3 separate regions of the Homo sapiens genome follow, and all the other regions are linked to region 3. Evidence: promoter capture Hi-C in human tissues and cell types (Jung and others, 2019). All regions are on one chromosome and are shown on one strand. Each heading gives the region's core, a stretch centred on a gene start or on the middle of the fragment in contact. The rest is flanking DNA. Distances are from core to core; before and after follow the strand shown. Region 1 overlaps ZNF212 (zinc finger protein 212). Region 2 overlaps LOC107986856 (a long non-coding RNA gene). Region 3 holds the start of ZNF467 (zinc finger protein 467).

Evidence for each region. Contacts are between HindIII fragments. The study calls those that stand out against the background at their distance.
Region 1: a fragment that was not itself captured here is called in contact with the fragment with the promoter of ZNF467 in region 3 in 1 of the 25 tissues and cell types used here (spleen).
Region 2: a contact is called between a fragment that was not itself captured here and the fragment with the promoter of ZNF467 in region 3, in 1 of the 25 tissues and cell types used here (lymphoblastoid cells).

Annotation. Positions count from the first base shown.
Region 1 is chr7:149,249,252-149,251,951 of GRCh38, reverse strand. ZNF212 (zinc finger protein 212) reads right to left here. Exons shown (of 5, transcript NM_012256.4): 2 at 1,404-1,793; 3 at 1,145-1,271. Among named protein-coding and RNA genes, the nearest start is that of ZNF212, 11 kb to the right of the region's middle. The HindIII fragment of the contact is 4,566 bases long and covers 1-2,700 here.
Region 2 is chr7:149,141,911-149,144,610 of GRCh38, reverse strand. LOC107986856 (a long non-coding RNA gene) reads left to right here. Exons shown (of 2, transcript XR_007060581.1): 2 at 1-1,647. It also overlaps a transcript of ZNF398 not described here. Among named protein-coding and RNA genes, the nearest start is that of ZNF398, 4.2 kb to the left of the region's middle. The HindIII fragment of the contact is 6,283 bases long and covers 1-2,700 here.
Region 3 is chr7:149,772,300-149,774,999 of GRCh38, reverse strand. ZNF467 (zinc finger protein 467) reads left to right here and starts at 1,412. Exons shown (of 5, transcript NM_207336.3): 1 at 1,412-1,892. RefSeq lists a silencer at 1,790-1,969. The HindIII fragment of the contact is 33,741 bases long and covers 1-2,700 here.

The DNA.
Region 1 (2,700 bases), core at 197-2,696, 520 kb after region 3:
TTTTTTTTTTAAGCAACAGAGATCTCACTATGTCGACCAGGCTGATTTCGAACTCCTAGCCTCAAGCTATCCTCCCACCTTGGCCTCCCAAAGTGTTGGGATTACAGATGTGAGCTACCACACCCATCTCAAATAGTCTTAAATATTAAAAACAGCATGAGAGGCCAGGTGCGGAGGCTCACGCCTGTAATCCCTGCACTTTGGGAGGCCGACGTGGGTGGATCACTTGAGCCCAGAAGTTCAAGACCAGCCTGGGCAACACAGTAAGACCCACGTCTCTACAAAAAATTTAAAAAATTAGCCAGGCGCAGTGGCATGTGCCTGTAATCCCAGCTACTCGGAAAACTGAGGTGGGAGAATCATTTGAGCCCAAGCTGTCAAGGCTGCAGTGAGCCGAGATCGTACCACTGCACTCCAGCCTAGGTGACAGAGTCTCAAAAAAAAAAAAAAAAAAAAAAAAGATAAAACAGGCCAGACGCAGTGGCTCACACCTGTAATCCTAGCACTTTGGGGGGCTGAGGTGGGCAGATCACGAGGTCAGGAGTTCAAGACCAGCTTGGCCAACATGGTGAAACCCCATTTCTACTAAAAATACAAAAATTAGCTGGGCGTGGTGGCAGTCACCTGTAATTTCAGCTACTCGAGAGGCTGAGGCAGGAGAATCGCTTGAACCTGTGAGGCAGAGGTTGCAGTGAGCCAAGATTGTGCCACTGCACTCCAGCCTGGGCAATAGAGCAAGACTCTGTCTCAAAGAAAAAAAGAAAAAAAAAAGATAAAATAAATTAAAAAACAACATGAGGAACCCTAGCCATATCACACTATAGGGTATATGACATTTTATTTATTAGAAAATACTATCAAGAACAGACTATGTGACCACAGGAAAAAAAAAAAAAAAACACAAAAGGCACAATGCTGCGAGCTTTCCAAAAGTCTCTGTAAATGGGAGGACCTAGAGACTGGCATTTCTCCACCCGTGCAGGTCTGTAAATGGGAGGACCTAGAGACTGGCATTTCTCTGCCCGTGCAGGCCGACAGAGGACCCACAGCCACAGGAGCCACAGGTGTGGTCTGAATTACAGGCTGCCAGCCAGGAATTGTAGTATGTCTGAGACAGAATTCTAGGGAGAAAACTGCTACTCACTCAGAGAGACCAGTGTCTCATAGTTACTCTCCATCACGTTTCTGTAGAGCTCCTTCTGCCAATCCTCCAGATTCTCCCATTCCTGCTCGGTGAAACAGACGCCATCATTCTCCAGTGACCTGGACACCTGGAATCACCAATGGCACACCATGAGTGCTTCTACTCACAGCTATGACAGAAAAGCCAGCAACTGAGGTGCTTACATATTAAAGGGCTGGCTCCCCCTTCTCTTCTAACTTTTAATCCTCAATGAGACTACCTTGGGGGCCTCCCCCTTGCTGCCCGGGGGCAGCCGCAGGATCCAGAAGTTCCTGTTGCGCAGCAGGTTCTCCACGTTCTCCAGCCGCCTCTGCAGTAGCCCATACTCCTGCAGCAGGGTCCCCAGCACGGCCCACTTGCCCTCCAGCTGGTTCCCGAACTCCACGGCCATCTTCTCGCAGTCAGCCAGCTTCTTCTCGGCTGTCCCCGTGCGCCCCTCCAGGCTCTGTAGCCGGGCAGCCTGGGACTCCATCTTCTTCTCCACAGCCTGAATAGCGGCCACCACCGTCCAGAGTGAAATCTCGGTGGTCTGAAAATAGGAGCTTTTCTCTGTTGCTTGTGAAGGAAGTGTGGAAGAAGTTAAAGGTGTGGAGCGTCGTTTTCTCCTGTGCTGATGGATTAAAGACACAGGGTCAATGTCACTTCCAAACATCAAGTAAAGAAAGCAGTGTTCAAGTGTATCAGTGCTCAGAGTTATCTAGTTTCTTTTAATTAAAAAAAAGCATGTCTTTTATTGATACTAAAAATTATACATAGATATTGTATTAATAATGTTGGAAAATGATGAAGAATAGAAAGAAAATATTACACAAAATCTTCTCACACACAATAAGCTGTTAGGGCTGGCCGTGGTGGCTCACAACTGTAATCCCAGCACTTTGGGAGGCCAAGGCAGCTGAATCACTTTAGCTCAGGAGTTTGACACCAGCCTGGCCAACAAGGCAAACCCTGTCTCTACAAAAAAGTTCAAAAAATTAGCCAGGCATGGTGATGCATGCCTGTAGTCCCAGGTACTTGGGGCACTGAGGTGGGAGGACGGTTTGAGCCCAGGAGGTTGAGGCTACAGTGAGCCAAGATCGTGCCAGTGCACTCCAGCCTGAGTAACAGAGTGAGACCCTGTCTCAAAAAAGAAAAAGAAAGAAAGAAGCTGTTTGAATTTTGGTGTATTTCTAAAGTTTTTTTTCATCTTTTAGTTTATTTTTTTTCAACAAAAGTGAAATTATAGCGTGTATGTTCTGTTACCTATGCTTTATGCTTAGCATATTCTCTGAGACTCCTGTATCAGTGTTCATTTTTAAACCTATTTTTATTTAATGTTTTGGACTATATGATAAAAGATGTCACTTACATCTTATCTTGCTTCCACATCCCTGCCAGACTTCATAGTTGATCATGTCACCCGTTTGAAAACTTTCAATGGCTCCCCACAATAAAGACAAAATTCCTTAGCAGGACCTACAAGACCTAATTCATTCATCTTTGCACTCTAGCAGCTGGGATGGTGAATAAATCCTTAA
Region 2 (2,700 bases), core at 120-2,619, 630 kb after region 3:
ATCTCAAAAAAGAAAAAAAAAAATGTAGTAGCCGAGCACAGTGGGAGGCCGAGGTGGGTAGATTGTTGGAGCCCAAGAATTCAAGGCCAGTCAGGGCAACCTGGTGGGACCCTGTCTCCATAAAAAAATACAAAAATTAGCCTGAAATGGTAATGCACACCTGTCGACCCAGTTACTCGGGAGGCTGAGGTAAGATCACTTGAGCCAGGGAGGTTGAAGCTGCAGTGAGCTGTAATAATACCACTGCACTCCAGCCTGGGCGACAGACTGACATCCCATCTCCAAAAAAAAAGTAGTAAAGTTTTCAAGTTTGATGTTATAAGGCAAGAACAACAATTTCTGTCAGATGCTCCTATGGCCATTTAACAGGGACATTTGTATTACTAAATAAGACTTCCAACTGAGCTCCATAGAAAGCAAGGCTACCTCTCTGCTTTAATATGGTAATATTACCACCAACTTATTAAATGTTCCTTCCTTGAATAGGAATATATTAAGACAAGAAATTCTTCCTATTTAATTCTTGGCCTTAAAAATTCTTTGGATGGTACTGGCATTTCATTAAGCAATTTCACTGACTGAAGCTTTTTGTGTACTGTTTAAAGAAGATGCACAATATTTTCAGAAGCAGATGTAAGGTTGTTGTACTAACTTATTTTTAATTTATAATATTTTTGTCTGCTCTTGCTGCTATACATAATCACTAGAGAAAAAAATTGTCCTAAAAGTTTGGATCTAGAAATGTGACTATGAAACAATTTAATTGGCTTTTTTGGGGGGTTGTTTGTTTGTTTTTTGAGATGGAGTTTTTACTCTTGTTGCCCAGACTAGAGTGGAATGGCGCAATCTCTGCTCACTGGAACCTCTGCCTCCCGGGTTCAAGTGATTCTCCTGCCTCAGCCTCCCAAGTAGCTGGGATTACAGGCATGCGCCACCATGGGGGCTAATTTTGTATTTTAAGTAGAGACGAGGTATCACCATGTTGGCCAGGCTGGTCTCGAACTACTGACCTCAGGTGATCTGCCCACCTCGGCCTCCCAGAGTGCTGGGATTACAGGCGTGAGCCACCGCACCCTGCCAATTGGTTTTTGAGTTAACAAAATAATCCCAGTTTCCATCTGCATCTTGACTTTCCCTGCATATGCACACCAATTTCAGCATCTTCCTTTGCACAGAATCAAGGACAGATTTTTTTCAGCATGTATGATGTAAAAAATACACTGATGGCACATCAATTTATTCAGCAAGTTCCAACAAACTCTTTTGTCTTCAAGCAACCATTGGTTATTGGTAAATCTTGCTACATTGGTAATATTCTCTGAAAATTACAAAATTAAAGCCTTTATCCGATCAGCTTTAGAAGGACGTAATAATTGCACCACCTTGCTTCAGTATCTTGTAAAACAAGACAGTTTCAAAATCTACAATGTTCCTGCTTGCCGCCAGTAATTTTCTTTTCTTTTCTTTTTTGAGATGGAGTCTCGCTCTGGCCACCGCGCCTGGCCAGTAATTGTCTATTACATCATTAATACATTAAGCTAGATGTGGGAGAATCACCTGAGCCTGGGAGGTTGAGTTTGCAGGGAGCCGAGATCATGCCACTATACTAATCAATCATCGATCAATAAAATAACATACATGAAGCTATACCTGTTTTCTGAATGTAAAACTGAAGATGGGAACAAACTATAGTGTGCTTGTGCTCATAGCCTTTACTGTATTTTTCCATGGGAAATTCGACGTTCGTGCGTTTCCGTTTACTGATTTTACATTCCACAAATTTTTCTCAAAGTCAGATTCACTGAGACCTAGGAATTTTTCATTAAGTAGGGAAAATGGAAACCCAGTTGAATTAATAATTGCTCCTCTGTATGGTCAAACATAAAAAGTTAAGCGTGATTCTTCATATCCAAATATCTGGTTTTTTGTTTGTTTGTTTGTTTTTAGACGGAGTCTCGCTCTGTTGCCCAGGCTGGAGTGCAGTGGCGCGATCTTGGCTCACTGCAAGCTCCGCCTCCAGGCTTCACGCCATTCTCCTGCCTCAGCCTCCCGAGTAGCTGGGACTACAGGTGCCTGCCACCACGCCCGGCTAATTTTTTGTATTTTTAGTAGAGACGGGGTTTCACCGTGTTAGCCAGGATGGTCTCGATCTCCTGACCTCGTGATCCGCCCGCCTCGGCCTCCCAAAGTGCTGGGATTACAGGCGTGAGCCACCACTCCCAGCCCCAAATATCTTATATACCAGATATATACAGTATCTGGTACATATACAGATATATACAGTATATATCTGGTATATAAGACATTTTCAATATTTTATTGCAGCATTTTTAATATTTCATTAACCTTTTGGTGCACAGCAGAAAATGAATCAGGAAAAATATTTTAGGAATGTTTCCTAAAATAAATCAATATTTAGAATAAGATCTTGGGGAAATCTCAACCGAAAATGGTTACCAGTCTATAGCAATTATCTCTACAAGCTCTAAAAACATTAGTCCAGGCACGGTGACTCACCTCTGTAATCTCAACACTTTGGGAGGTCGAGGTGGGAGGATTGCTTGAACCCAGGAGTTTGGAGCTGTAGTAAGCCATGACTGTGCCACTGCATTCCAGCCTGAGTGGCAAAGCGAGACCCTGTCTTAAACAAAAACAGCCTTCATGGATGCCAACCTATGATAACTTGTCTTACTAAAAGCA
Region 3 (2,700 bases), core at 163-2,662:
CGGGCTGGAATGCAGCCTGGCTCCGACTCCACACCCCTCGGTCTCCTAAACCTGATATCCCTCCGAGTATCCTGTAGAGTCATTCCACCTAGGGGAGGAAGGGGGCTGCTGTTAACCAGAGCTGGGCCGGGCTCTCCTTCTCCTGGGTTCACCATTGGTCCCAGGGCCAAAAAAGGGCCCAGAGTGAGTCTCTCAGGGGGTCACGGATGACTGGGATCAACTCCTGCTCTGGAGTCCTCAGAAAGAGCCACACGCACACCCAGACACCCCCCTTTCCTGTTTTACACACATGCACACTCTCACTGTAAGTCTCACAACACCGGCACAGGTGCTCGGCCACACCCCAGCACGCACAGTGACACATGCTACTCCAGGTGCTCCCTTCATCCTGGAGGCAGAGGAGCCTTCACAGCTGAGCCCGAGTGATGGGCGCTCTTCCAGGCACTCATCCTTGTGGTGGGCTGTGGTAGCAGGAGCTCAAGGGCCATTCACACCCTCCCCTTCCCAGCCTCACTCAGCTCTGGATTCAAACCGGGGCTGATCAGGCAGCACTGGGATTGGGAAGAGACCCGAGTTGCAGTCACCCTTTCCCGTAAAGGGGCAGAAGGGAGGAAGCTGGAACCCAGGGGTTTGGAGAAAGTTCATGGAGAGGAGACCGGGAACTAACAGTCCAGACTTCAGCATCTCCGGAGCTTTCAGGAGTGGGCGCAGCGGGAACAAGGCCAAGGAGAAACCTCGTAACCTGGGCAGGGAGGGCGAGTGGAGTCCCCTGAGGAGCTGGGGCTGAGGGCTGAGGGCTGAGGGCTGCCCTCCACATCTAACTCCAGGTGGTGTCCGGGCCAGCAGGCCCCCCAGCAATCGTCTCCCGCCCATAGAGCCCTCCCCTCTCTGCAGCCCCCTCCCAGACCCTCCCCCGGACCCCGCCCTCAGAATCTCCGCCCAGCCCCGTCCCAGCCTTGCCCCCTGGAGCTCCCGACCTGGCCCGGCCTTCTCCCAGGGGACCTGGCTTAAAGTCCTCTCCCCAGTTTCTACTTCGAAGGACCCGTTCTCGCAAGCACAGGGGCCCAGCCCTCTCTCCCGCCTGCCCCCACGGCTCCCGCGGCTGGTTTCGAATCGGGTCCTCGGGACTCCAGGCGAGGGGCTGCGGGTCTGGGTGGATCGGGGTGGAATCCGGGTGGAGAATGGGGGCGGGGCCGGAGTTTCCCAGACCGACCCCCCGGGCCGTCCTCCCGCGGGAGCGCGGCGCTGCACACCCGGCTGGCACCGGCGACTTAGAGACGGCAGCGCACGACTCGCTGGCTCCCCCCCGACACGGCCCCTCCTCGTTCCCCCAACTCCTCCCCGCCACCCCCCCACCCGTTCGCGCTCCACCTTTCCCCGGCTCCTCCCTCCGCGGCCGCGAGCACCCTCCCTTGGCACCCTTCCCCGCAGCCCGAGTGCCTGTCCTCCCCAGCCTCCTCGCCCTCCTCCACCCCCTCTCCCATCACCCTCCCCTCCCCTCCCCTCCCCTCCCCCGTCCTGAGCTCCCACTTCCACACCTACTCCAGGCTCGGAGCCTTAGGACCATCACCTGCCCACCTAAGCCCACGGTGCTCCCTCCTGGGACCCCACTCCTGAAACCCCCTGCCCCTGCCTCCCCCAGCCCGGTGCGCCGGGGCTCTCCGCCCGCTCCCTCGGTCCCTCCTCCCTTGCAGGCGCCGTTTCCCGGCTTCGACTCCCCGCGCGTCTATCCCTCTCCTCCCCGCGAAGTTTCGGGGCTGTCAGTCTGTCAGTCTTTCAGGCCGTCAGCACCCGAGCTGCAGGCGGCGAGCGCCATTGTGAGCAGAGCCGGCGGGGCAGGAGGCCCGGGCGCCTGGGTCCCCGCGGCGCGGGCGGAGCGGCCGGCCAGCCAGGTAAGGGCCGGGGAGGCTCCTCTGCAGGCGGCCCCGCCCGCGTCTCCCTCAGCGCCGCGGTTGGGTCACGGCCGGCTCCGCGCAGGTGACAGCCCCGGGGGTAGGGGCGCGGACGGCGGGCGTGGGGGAGGGGCGCGGGTCCGGGGAGGTCGGGGGCTGGGGGGAAGGGAGGGCAAGGCCGGCGCGGGCAGGGTGAGGGCTGTGGGGGTAGAGGAGACCGGGGGGGCTGGAGGGAAGGGCGGGGGCTGGGAGGGGGTCGGGCGGGAGGCAGGTGGGAAGGGGGACGACGGGCCCCGAGGGGAGGAGAGAGGGAGTGTGGGAGGGGGCCGAGGGGGAAGGGGAGGAAGAAGCGGGCGCTGGGGACCGGGCCACTCGGTAGGGGCGGGAGAGGAGGGCGCTGACAGGTGAGCCCCGGAGCTGGGGAGGGGGCCGGGACCTGGAATGAAGTCGGCGATCGGAGCTGCTTGGGAGGGCGGCGGGGCAGGGAGGTGGAGCTGAGGGTCCCGTCGGGAGGAAAACTTGGGAGGGGTGAGAAGTCCGAGGGGAGCAGAAATAGGGAGGGGGCGCCGCGGCGGAGAAGAGAGGCGCGGAGGGGTGTTCGGAGGGGAGACGGAGTGGGGAGGGCAGGGCCCGCGGGAAGGTCCCGAGAGAGCGGGTCAGCCCTAGACCCCCAGGCTTGGGGGCCGGAGGACCCGGGAGCTGGGAAGCAGCCTGGGAGGGGGGAGGGGAAGAGCGGTTCTGGGGACTGGGGACGGGGAGGGAAGCGAAGCTGGAGCCTGCTGGGGAGACAGAGGGGGAAGGGAGGCGG